Linked DNA regions of Homo sapiens: region 1 is linked to region 2. The links are contacts of gene promoters, found by promoter capture Hi-C in blood cells and fetal thymus (Javierre and others, 2016). All regions are on one chromosome and are shown on one strand. The core of a region is centred on a gene start or on the middle of the fragment in contact, and the rest is flanking DNA. Distances in the headings are between cores, read along the strand shown. Region 1 has its middle 410 kb from the start of NAALADL2. Region 2 holds the start of NLGN1 (neuroligin 1).

Region 1 (5,888 bases), core at 321-2,820, 1.0 Mb after region 2:
GTGTAAAGGATTAATTAACTGTGGATTAAGTTGCTGGACTGAAAGTTGTGTTGCAGTTATCCCTGCGGAACAGAAAAGATAGACTTTTTTTTTAACCACCCGAGAACCTTAAGATAATGGTGTTGCTTCTGTTGAAGGAATACATCTTGACAAACATTAAAAATTATGTCATAGGATCCTGTAGTATCCACTCCAGTGAGTTCGATTTGGTAACGGTTCTTTGTCATCTGTGAGTTAGATTCTGTGCTGACTGGTGACAGGTTAACAGAGAAGAGATTCCGTTCCTGTCCTCAGGAGAAGGGACCATGGTGAGCACTGGCTTAATCCTACGAAGTGCTCTGGGAGAATGGGGGAGGAAAAGCTTAAAAGGAAGAGTTGGGTTTAAAACTGGATTCTTGGTATTTTAAGTACGATTTTCACCATTTTTTCCCACACCCCAAGAATTCTTAATGGAAAGGGGAATTATTTTAACAATACTTTCACCTTTAATTTTTTAGAGATTTTTTTTCTCCTTTACAATCGGCAGTAATGTCTGATCTCAAGACTTATGGGAAATGTAAAAGTAACTCCTCTTAATAAGGATGACGTAATGCATTCCTGATAACATAAAAAGAGTATTAAAGACCTTTAATGTAGGACGACTAACAAGAATGAAATGTAATTTATTAATTGCTTACATAAAGCATTATTATATTTAGGTAGAACACTCAATACTTATTAGTCAACAATTGTTTGTTGATTGCTTACTGCGTGCCAAGCAGTGTTCTTGACACTGGAATAAAGCAAAGAAGAAACTTCTGGCTTCTTGGAATATACATTCTAGTGGAGGGAGACAGTATATGTAGTACATAAGAAAAATATAAGGTGAAACCGTAATAAGTGCTATGGACTTATTACATAAAGCAGGAAAAAGAGTGTGTGTTTAGTAATTTAAAATAGGATTTTACCGGAAGTCCTCTGGAGAAGGTGACATTTCAGTAGACTTGAAGCAGTTGAGGGAGTAAGCCATATATTTGGGGCAAGAGTTTCCGGGCGCAGAGAAATAGCAAGTGCAGAGGCCGGGCACATTGCTGTGTTCAGGGATCAGCAAAGAAGCTTGTGTAGCTGAAGTGGAATGGAGGATAGAGGAGAAGTAGGATATGGGATTTTAAATGTCATAGGGGCCAGATAGTACTACATGGTCTGCTAAGCTATTGTAATGATAACCTTTACTTGAAGCCATTTGGAGGCCATTGGAGCCTTTTGACAAGAGGAATGACATGATCTAACACATCTGTTTGATACCATTACTCTGCCTACTGTATTGAGAACAGACTGAAGAAAGCAAGAATAGAAGCAGGGATAACAGTTAGGCTATCATAATTTATGTGACAGATCATGGTGGCTTAGACCCGGATGATAGCAGTGGAAGTGGTGAGTAGTTCATATTCTGTATATATATTTTGAGGGTGTATTCCTCAGGGTTTGCTGAGAGATAGGATATGGAATGTGAGAGCAAAAGAAATTAAGGAGAATGTAATTGCCTAAGCAACTGGAAAGATAAGAGTTTCTGTTAACTGAGATTGGAAAGAACAGGAAGAAGATGTAATTGGGATTAAGAATCTGGATTTGGATATGTTAGGTGTTAGATGGGTTTTAGATATCCAAATGGAAATGTCAAGCATGCAGTTAGCTGGAAGACCAAGCTAATGGCATACATTTAGGACTCTTCATCATATAGCGGGTTGTAAAAGCGAAGAGATTGAATGCATCAAAAGTGTGTGAGTTTAGAATATTGAAGATGACCAGGGACCAGACTTTACGTCATAAAATCTGGTACATAATGGTGTACGTCAGCATTATGAGATGAGGAGAAACCAAAAAGGAGTCTGAAAAAGAGCTGCATTCCATGTAAAAGGGAAAGCAGGAGAATATGGAATCCTGGAAGTGTTTCAAGAAGTAGAGGGCTGATCAGTTGTTTTAAAGATGAGGATTGAGAATTAATCTAGCAAAGGAAATCATTGATGACCATGATGTTGCCAGTTTTCATGGAGGAAGTAGACATGAAAGCTTGTTTGTAATGTGTTTGACAGAGTAGAAAGACATTGAAGAAGGTGATGGTATACATCACTTGAATATTTTTATTGAAAAGGGAGGGAGGAAATGGAGCGTTAGTTGTAGGACCAGATGATGTAAAGAGAGTTTTTTAAAGTGTACAAAACAATGGCATGTTGTGATACTAATGAGAAGGAGCCAATAGAGAACAAAAAATTGATGATGCAGGAGACAGAGGGGAATGCTGTTCACGAGGAGGTGAGAAAGGATACATGCATACAACAAGAGAGACTATCTGTTGCTAGGGTTATGAGCTATTTACCTAGAACAAATGAGAGAAGGAAAAGTGTGGGGGCACAGATGGAGGTGGGGAATGTGGATGTTCTATTTGGATCCCTTCTCTTTTCTCATTGTTTATGAGATCCAGGTGTGGTACATGAGAAATTTGTAGGAATCATTACCATTTTTTCCATTTGGTCAGGAATATTTGATGAAAGAATACTTTGAGATTCTAAGAATTGCTTGAAACAGAAAACTTTGTGCATTGTTGAGGACAGAAGGGGGATTTCTGCCTTGAGCTTTGCTTAGGAGAAGACTTAAAGAGAAAGTGGAGATTACAAGATAAAAGGGGAAAAGGAGGAAATAAGGCAAGCTAAATCATATGATGAAATCCCTGAGAAGGGATCTGATGAGGAAGTTAGCAACATTGAGTCTCACCTCCCGTGGAGCTTATAACTACAGTAACGTTCTAAGAATATTACCGTTATTATCAAACAAACTCTTTTCTGTTTAAGTACCAAGTGTGATCAAATGGAGAACAGTGTTGTCACCAGTGGTCAGTCTAATTATAGAATGGTGGTATTAAATCTTGGAAGAGATGTTAGTTAGGATTAGATTTCAGATTGGATTTTGAAAATGTGAAAAACAGCGATTGGCAACAAATATCATTTGAAAATGATGTGAAAAAGACTGGATTGGCAACATAGGTTGTAGATGTATGGTAGAATTTTGACAACATTACTCATAGATATTGAGCAGTTTGACAAGATGGAGAGAATTGATAGAGTTGGAAATGGAACCTTGTTTGAGATTTTTTTTTTTTTTTCAGTTATTTAGGGACCATTTGTTTCTTGAATTCTTACTATAAAACAGGGTTCTGCGTAAAGTCTTGGCAGGGGATGGTGATAACCACTATGTAAATGACATCATCTCTGCCCTCAATTTACCATTTTTAGTAGAGTGAGGAGAAGGGAATATATGTAAATATTGCAATACAATTGATAAATGCCTTATGAAGAGTACTGAATGCTTTTAGGTTGTTAGGTTTCCAAACATATTTCTTTTATTATGTAAATTATCAGACACGCAAAGGTAGAATAGTATAATGAACCCCAGTATATTCAGGAGTACGTCTCATTAGTCTATTTCATAATTCATACAAAAGATTAGGAGTTAGGGGCCTATAATTATAGTCCCAGTTATGTCCCCAGGTAGTTTTGTGCCCATGTCTTTCCTGGCCTTCAGTTTTTTACTGAAAAATGAGGAGGCAGCTCAAGATCATTTTTAAGGCTTCCTACAGTTCAAAAATATTTTGATTGTATAGTTTTTTACGTGGTACATTCAAAGAAATAGATGAGACAGCTATACAGGAGAACTAGGTTTGTTAAGGGAAAAATTAAGCTCCCCTTCTACCTCTCTTTCCTCACACATATATAACTATTAGATGTCGGCATGCACATATGATGTAACTATAAAGTTGATGTGATTTATATGTGGTTTATTAAAATCTATAGTGATATTTGGTATATAGGAGTAAAATATATGACCTTATGTTTGTGTGTTTTCTATTTGTGTAACAGAATAGATATTTTTTCCCTTTGAGCCAAAAAACATGCGATTATATGAGAAGTGAGTCTTGATGAAGTCCTTGACCTCTCTGATCTGCTCTGACCTGCATTGTGCCTAATTTTTTGTTTGTTTTACCAAACAAAATTTGATTCATTGCTTAATTTGTTTGCCAGTTAAAAGCAAACAGTATTCCTGAAATCAAGGTTTTCTGTTTTGCACTGTTGCATGGGATATTGATGTCAGACAAAATTGTAATTTAATTGTTTTGACATTTTGATCTGAGCAGTTCAGATAAGAAAGGTGATTTATCTTGCCCAGAAACCTCATATTTTGAGCTCAGCATGAATTTTCCCTAACTGCTTGTTTATAAATGTGGTTTCTAAAAAATTAGACTTTCATCATATTGGGAATTTATGCTCTGGGTATTAATTACCAAGGTACAATTTGATAGGAATATAGTAGAGATATTTTAATTTTTAGATGGTCAGTCATGAAAAACTTCAGAAGTGCTATGAATCCTTTAAAAGAAAGTGAAACTTTCATACTTTCAAACTTATATTCTTTGTATATAATATCACATGTGAATTTTTAAAGTAGTACAAATGGCTTTTTGCTCTTTTACAATCTTGGTATATAAAATTACTCATGAAATTCTTTAGTTTTAGGATTTTAGCTATTATATTGGTCAAACCTTATACTTTGCATAGTCTGTGCTTTTGTACTCCTGTTCATCAAGTACAATTATCATTGGTGATAAAGTCACTTCAAATAATGCATCCCTAAGTGATCATGCTATCTCTTTAAATAGTATGTGTGTGTGTATGTGTGTATTTTCATTTCAGTTTAATATGGTACTCAGTAATTTGACAGTTTCTTGGGGCATCCAGTTCTAACAAGCCCTGTATCCTAGTCTCCACCTGGGGGCAGGGGGATTCATGTTTTTGGAATCAAACCTGTAACATATTTCCTGCATGGTTATAGAACTCTCAGAGTACTCAAACCAAAGTAAACATCTTCTGGGGCAGTATAACACTTTTTTGAAATGCTGGTTGTAGAAGCCAGCTTGAAATTTTTGATCACCTTCAGGTGATAAAAGCCTTTTTCCCTATCTTCTTGGATGGAGGGATCTGATGAGAAGATGAAGATAGGAGCAACCTTAAGAAACCTTGTGGTTCTGGACCCCTTTTTTGCATTTAATTTTGCTAGAGTTTTGGAAAACTTTAAAAATAATAACAAGGTATCTTCAAGTAAAATGGCTACTAATTATGCAGGAAACCTACTCTTGCCTTTATATGTGTGTGAAAATACTTGTGTTACTGGCACTTGTTGAGATAAGACAATGTGAGAGATACATCCTAGAGAGGCTCTGTTTACAGGAGTTACATAATTCCTACATCAGCCCTTTTGTAATATGTCATAGTTTGAATATAGAGTGCCAGCAGTCATCTATCTTCTAAGAATTTTTCCAAAGAGACCCTAGTCTCTAGGGGATTAATGGCTCCCTCAGAATAGGCCAGTCTGAATGATTTGTAAATTAACACTTAGGAGCTGGAAAACAAGATGATGCTTCTCTAACTGGGGTACTCTGAGCTTTGTTAGAGGGCTCCGAGCCATAGATAAATATGGCCATCTTCTTTTGTAAAACTTATTGCTATATTTTGGAGAAAGTAGTTAAATAATTTAACGGGTAAGTTAAATATTCAGAACCACTATTGAATGTGAATATGACATCCAGTGCAAAATACATGATTTTAAAAATAAAATTTGGCCGGGCGAGGTGGCTAACGCCTGTAATCCCAGCACTTTGGGTGGCCGAGGTGGGCGGATCACGAGGTCAGGAGATTGAGACCATTCTGGCTAACACGGTGAAACCTCGTCTCTACTAAAAATACAAAAATAGCCGGGTGTGGTGGTGGGTGCCTGTAGTCCCAGCTACTCGGGAGGCTGAGGCAGGAGAATGGCGTGAACCTGGAAGGCGGAGCTTTCAGTGAGCCGAGATCACACCA
Region 2 (5,687 bases), core at 384-2,883:
CCACCTCCCCGCCTATGATTTTCGGAGGCGATTGCTCACTTAGCTGAGGATCTGTAGCCCCGGGAGATCTTCTCATCCTCTCCATTTCCAAGCTTCATAGGTGTCTTCCAGTTTCAAGTGTGTGTTTTGGGTATTTTATTTTTAATTTTTTTCCTTCTCCCTCTAAATCTTCTCGGAAATTCTGCATATTGAAGCAGGTGGCTCCTGGTACGAAATCTCTGGATACATTTGGCTTGCCAAGTTTTGCTCTTCGCTGTCCCCTCCCGTTTACAGAAGCATCTGTGGTGCTTTTCATTTTGGATTTACATGCAGGAAACGTATATATGTTTATATACCGACCGCATAATATATAAATACATATACGCGTGCCCAAGGGCCTGGTTTTCGTCTCTCCTCCCCACGAAACGGAATGTTTTGGAGCCGATGGATAACAAGAACACTATTAACATTCTTTTGAGCCTGTTTTTTAAAAGGGGGAGGGAGCGTGAAGAATTGTTTAACATTTGGCCATCGTTTGGCTGCACACTAAGCACCACGAAGTATTTATGGTTGCAGATCAGGTGCAAACGGGGCTTAGAGAGAAAGGTAAGGGAGCTTCCTGCGTCCGCCGAGCTCCGGCGTTTACCTTAATCCCGGGGATTGCCGAGAACTTCCTATTCCCTGCCTCTCCTTCGCCTTCCCCACCTTCCACCCACCCTTCTCTGCTCTCTCTCTTCTGTAAACTCAACCCTTTTCCAATCCCATTGGGGTGGGGGTGGGGGGTGCTGGAGGTATAATCGTCTATTTGAGTTTAAATGCGTCTCTCTTTCCCAGGCTAGTAGCTGAGTTTTCCAATAGCCTTTCTGGCGGTTTTAGGAAATCGTGTCCTTTATAAAAAATAATGCTACCTAAATAAGTGTTTTAAACATCTGAAGATGCCAGTCCCTCACCCTATCCTCTGATGAAAATAAAAGCAATAAAAAATAATGAACTTTAATAAACTGGGTGGTTTTTTTTAAGCGTTGGGGTTCATGGAAGCTCCCAAACGCTTTTTTTCATTTAAAAAGAAAGATAACCAGCAAACAAACCAATCTCAGGAGGAGTCCACAGTGGAGGAGATTCGCCTTCCGTTTCTGCATAAAACCAATACATTTTACTTGGAGGGTAATTTGCCAGAGTTGAGCGAGACGAAGCCGTGTCTAAATAAGTACATGACACTAAATTTCCTTTTAAATCCACCTTTTACACCATGGCCAGTCGCTTGTTTAACTCCCGTTCAAGGGACACGGTTTTCAAACGTGACCTTTTGGGGAGATGTGGGAACTTCCCCTCATTTCTTCTTCTGTGCCGCTAACCTCTTTCCTCCTCCGCGCGGCATCTCCAGCCCCGGCAGTTTGTAAATTGCCCGTTTTGCCCACCCTCCTGGTGGGCGTTCTCTCCCCCACTCCACTCCTGCCCCCTCTGTCCTTTCTTCATTGGCGTCTTCGGAGCAGATGCATCTTCTTTCTTCTTGGCCTCACTCTCCCGTTCCCCCGTCAGTCCCCCCACCCGCGGCTCCCCACTTGCCCCAGCTCTCCTCGCCGCTCCTCCCCGCCTCCCCGCGGAGGGTTGACCCTTCAATTCGGAGTCCCGGCCTGTGGGCGGGCGGGGGAGCGCCGCGGCTGTAAGCCGAGGATCAGGCGGCGGCGCGGAGAGCGCGCCCGGGCGGCCAGCGCCGAGCGCGCGGAGCTGGCGTGGGGAGACACGGCAGGAAAGGCGAGTCGGAGTGGGTGATGAGAGGCCGGGAGAGCCCGTCCGAGCCGGAGAGACCGGAGAGAAGGGAGCGAGCGACTGTGCGGCGCTCACGCTGCCAGAGCCCGGGCGGAGTGCAGTCGCCTCCAAAGCCTTAGAGCGGCGCCCCAGTCACTGCAGCTCTTCACCCTAGAGCTGTGCCCTGGGACCACAGAGACCAAGAGCATGGAAATCGGCTGAGAGGTACAAAAGAAATAAGGAACAGATTACGAGAAAGCGGGGAGGGTTTCCTGGCGAAATACGGAGGCTGAGCAGATGGAGGAACAATGCCGCCTCCAGAAGAAAACCCTTGCCTGAACCCTCGGCGGAGCGCAGAGGAGCTGCTTTCAGCCTTCTGCTCTCCCCAGGCCCTCCGGCTAGTTCTGGGGTTGGTTCCGCCGGTTAGTTTGACAGGGATAAGAAAGTTGCTCTTCTTCCCCACAACGTTTCCTGAGAGGTGGTTTTCAGATCTGTGTGTTTCCAGTCAAGATGTCACTCCCTAGATCCCCCGCGTTGAGCAACTAATATATTATGCATTATTGGGCAATAAACTCTCCTGGGAAGAGAAGGTATTCCAAACATTTAAACCGTTCTCCACCGACTCCTGCCCGCCTCAACACAATGCCTTGTGAGTAGAAATGAAAAACCACCTGAATTTAAAATTATTTAGGTTGAGATTTTGCATTGGGAATAATTTCTTCCAGAGGAGGTTGTTAGTGTGTTATAGAGATGAGGGATATTACATGTCCAATATTTGATTCATTTGTGATAATTCTAAATCATGAACAGTTGGCCTCCACAAAGGTACTATTTCTTTTTGCATTTCCAGGGCCATAGTGATACATATAACACTTGGGAAACGTGAATTCGTATAGTTAACCCAGTATCTGTTACTCTGCATTTTTACAGGTAGTTAATATACTCATTTTCCCTCTTTTTATACTCAAACTCCGGTAGACTATTTTTGCTTAAGTCAATTGAGTTGTCATGCTGTACATGAAAATTACAGGGTCTTAATGCATTTCTCACCATTAATTGTGCTCAATTATTAATAGGATCATAGATATTAAAATGTCACTGAGAAAGGGTATGTGTACCTATGTTTGAGTGTAAAACCTATAAAATGTCTCAGCATTTCTATCAGCCATTGTAACCTAGCAGAACACAAGGTTTTTGAAATGAGCTCAGAAGCAAGGGCCATTCATATATTTAAAATATTAAATGTTAAATGCAAAAACATTAAATTTACTGTGCCTTTGGCAGAGAATGAATCTAAGTCTACTTGCACTGCAGAGTGATTGAGTGATTCACAGAGAAAGTGGAAGTTAATCATTACTCAGGCCTTCTGATTACATGGTTTGATTAAAAGAAGTAACTGTTTTCTGTAAGCCTGCTATTCTGCAGTTAGTCTTCCCAATCCTCTTAACATAAGCAGAAATTGAGGGAGTCAATCTTTCAGCAGATTCTACTAGAGTTCCAGTAGTGTGGAGTAAGAAAAGCTTCTTTAGTTCCCGTCCTTCCCATTGTCTCCCTTCTTCCACCCCCAAAGTACTTGCTGTCAATCTTTTCTTTATTCCCTCAGTATAGTTTTATTTTGTGAAATTTTCCACTTACATTTAGTAATAACATATTTTCAAATGTAAATGTTTGAATGGCTTTGAAGTTGAAGGTGAAATATACACTTAAAGAAGGTAGGCTGAGAACTCCATTGGTTTCATTTGCAGGGTGTTGGAAGGCCTGATGACCCTATGCATTCCTGGATGACTTTCTTGGATCACTCTCCAAAGTCTCTTCCAACTCTGAAATTCTTATATTTTATTCTGCTTTTACTATTTTCACATGGTTATCCAGTGCCAAGATCTACATATCCCTTCAAATTACATTAAACTAGCTGTTTCTGGTTTTCTTTATAGGATAATTAAGTAGCTAGAACTATAAAATACAGTTATAAATCTGAGATCTGAGTTTTTTATAAAATTTTTCACATACATTTTAATGCTATTGACAACTTTTTGTGAGACAATATTAATACAGATATAGCTTTGAGTGACGTATCTCTCTGGGTTTTCATGTATTGAAACAGTTTTTAACATAGTAATGGTTTATCTTGATAATTCTTTATTATTTTTACACAAAGGAGTTATTTCACAAATTACCTAACAAATACTAATTTGTAGTTTTTGTAAGCAAAACACAGTTAAAAGTAACAGTAGTATTAGAAACTGCAGCTGTGTAACATATACCTTTGCCACATTTTAAAGGCTTAGTTTTTGAAGTGAAGTTTGCAGTCGGTTTCCATCTTACTGGATTGTCAATAGGAAGATATGATTTTTCAGTTATGTTTTAATTATCTGTAAATGAAATCACCAAAGTCCAGTCTTCTAGACTTAATATTATTATTATTATTTCTGAAATATAGGTATGATCTTATTAACATTGGCCAGTGGCTCCTTATAGATTATTACATGCCAAAGTCCACAACCCTAATGCCACTCAATGCTTTTCACAATTCATTCTTAAACCTCCTTATGTAGATTAAAACACTGTCCTCCTGGCCCCCCTTCTGAATTCACTCTTTAGTCCATTCACAAGACTCTTAATTACTATTTTCCCCAACACTACATACCATTTTAGGATTTTGTGGTTTGCTTATGCTAATCTTTCTTCATTGATCCATTCCCTGCCCCTCTACCCCACCCCACCAAATATACACCAATGATAGGACAGAAAAACATTTTAGTTCCTTGGGTGGTCTTTCCTTCATCATGATGCTTCCTTCCTGTACCCTTACTCTGAGCTCCCACAACACAGTATTTATACTGGGAGTAGCCCACCTTTCACACTTCTAATGGTTGGCTTTCTCACTGCACAGTGAATTGCCAGAGATCAAAAGACATGCCTGATTTATCATGTCATTCGGAAATGATAGCTTACCTTTATGTCTGAACATAGAGTCTACCATAAATGAATAGTAAATGTATTATTTATAAATATATTTGGCTATGAAGTAACAGAAAACTTGGCTAACCGTGGATTAAGCAAATAAAGCTTTATTTATCTCACATAATAAAAAGTCAGGAGAAGAGAGTTGCTTAAGCATTTTATCAGGCTTCTTCTATTATCTCGAAACCTTTCTTCTCATGGGCACAAGGTCACTGATGTGCCTCCAAACTCGTGTCTGTCTTTGGGGCCCAAAATGGGGGAGAAGAAGATAACAGTATTCTACCTCAGGGTTTCTCAGCTTTGACACTGTTGTCATTGTGGGCTGGATAATTATTTGTCTTTGTTATGGGGGAGTGTACTGTACATTATAGGGATGTGTAGCATCATCCTTGGCCTCTATCCACCAGATGCTGGTAGTGCACCCCACCCCCACCTCATCATGACTATCCAAGTATCTCCAGACATTGCCAAATGTCTCTAAGAGGTCAGATTGTCCCAGGCTCAGAAGTTTTGCTCTGAGATCAGAAGGAAGGAAATTCTCTGTTTCCTACTCTTCCCTACCCCTGTTTTTTTTTGTTTTGTTTTGTTTTTTGTTTTTTTCCCTGCATTATGGTGGTGGCGAGGATCTTTTTGATTTTTTGCTTAATAAGTGGTAGAGGACACATGATAAGATTTAAAAAACAAATAAGAAGAAGGAAGAGGAGGGAAAGAGGCCAAACAAGGCTTCTCTGAGCATTGTGTCTTTTTTTATGGTGTGAACATTCTCCCCATAGACTTCCATTCTCGTATCACTGCCAGACTCTGTCAGCTGGCTACTTCTAGGTAACTGAGAGGTTGGAAGATAGATTTTTAGGGTGACATTTTACTACCCTCAACAAAATCAGAATCTACAAGAAAAGAAGGGGAAATGGATTTGGTTTTGAAAACTTAGTGTTTGCCGTGATGGCAGAGTGAATCAATACATAAAATTCGTCTAAATACTTCAGAAAGGAGAA

What was found. Contacts are between HindIII fragments. The CHiCAGO score rates a contact against its expected background, and 5 or more counts as called.
Region 1: a contact is called between a fragment that was not itself captured here and the fragment with the promoter of NLGN1 in region 2, in 1 of 17 cell types (endothelial precursors). The highest score is 5.2, in endothelial precursors.

The regions. Positions count from the first base shown.
Region 1 is chr3:174,441,888-174,447,775 of GRCh38, forward strand. It overlaps a transcript of NAALADL2 not described here. Among named protein-coding and RNA genes, the nearest start is that of NAALADL2, 410 kb to the right of the region's middle. The HindIII fragment of the contact is 954 bases long and covers 1,094-2,047 here.
Region 2 is chr3:173,396,111-173,401,797 of GRCh38, forward strand. NLGN1 (neuroligin 1) reads left to right here and starts at 1,634. Exons shown (of 7, transcript NM_001365925.2): 1 at 1,634-1,953. RefSeq lists an enhancer at 1-402. The HindIII fragment of the contact is 3,156 bases long and covers 91-3,246 here.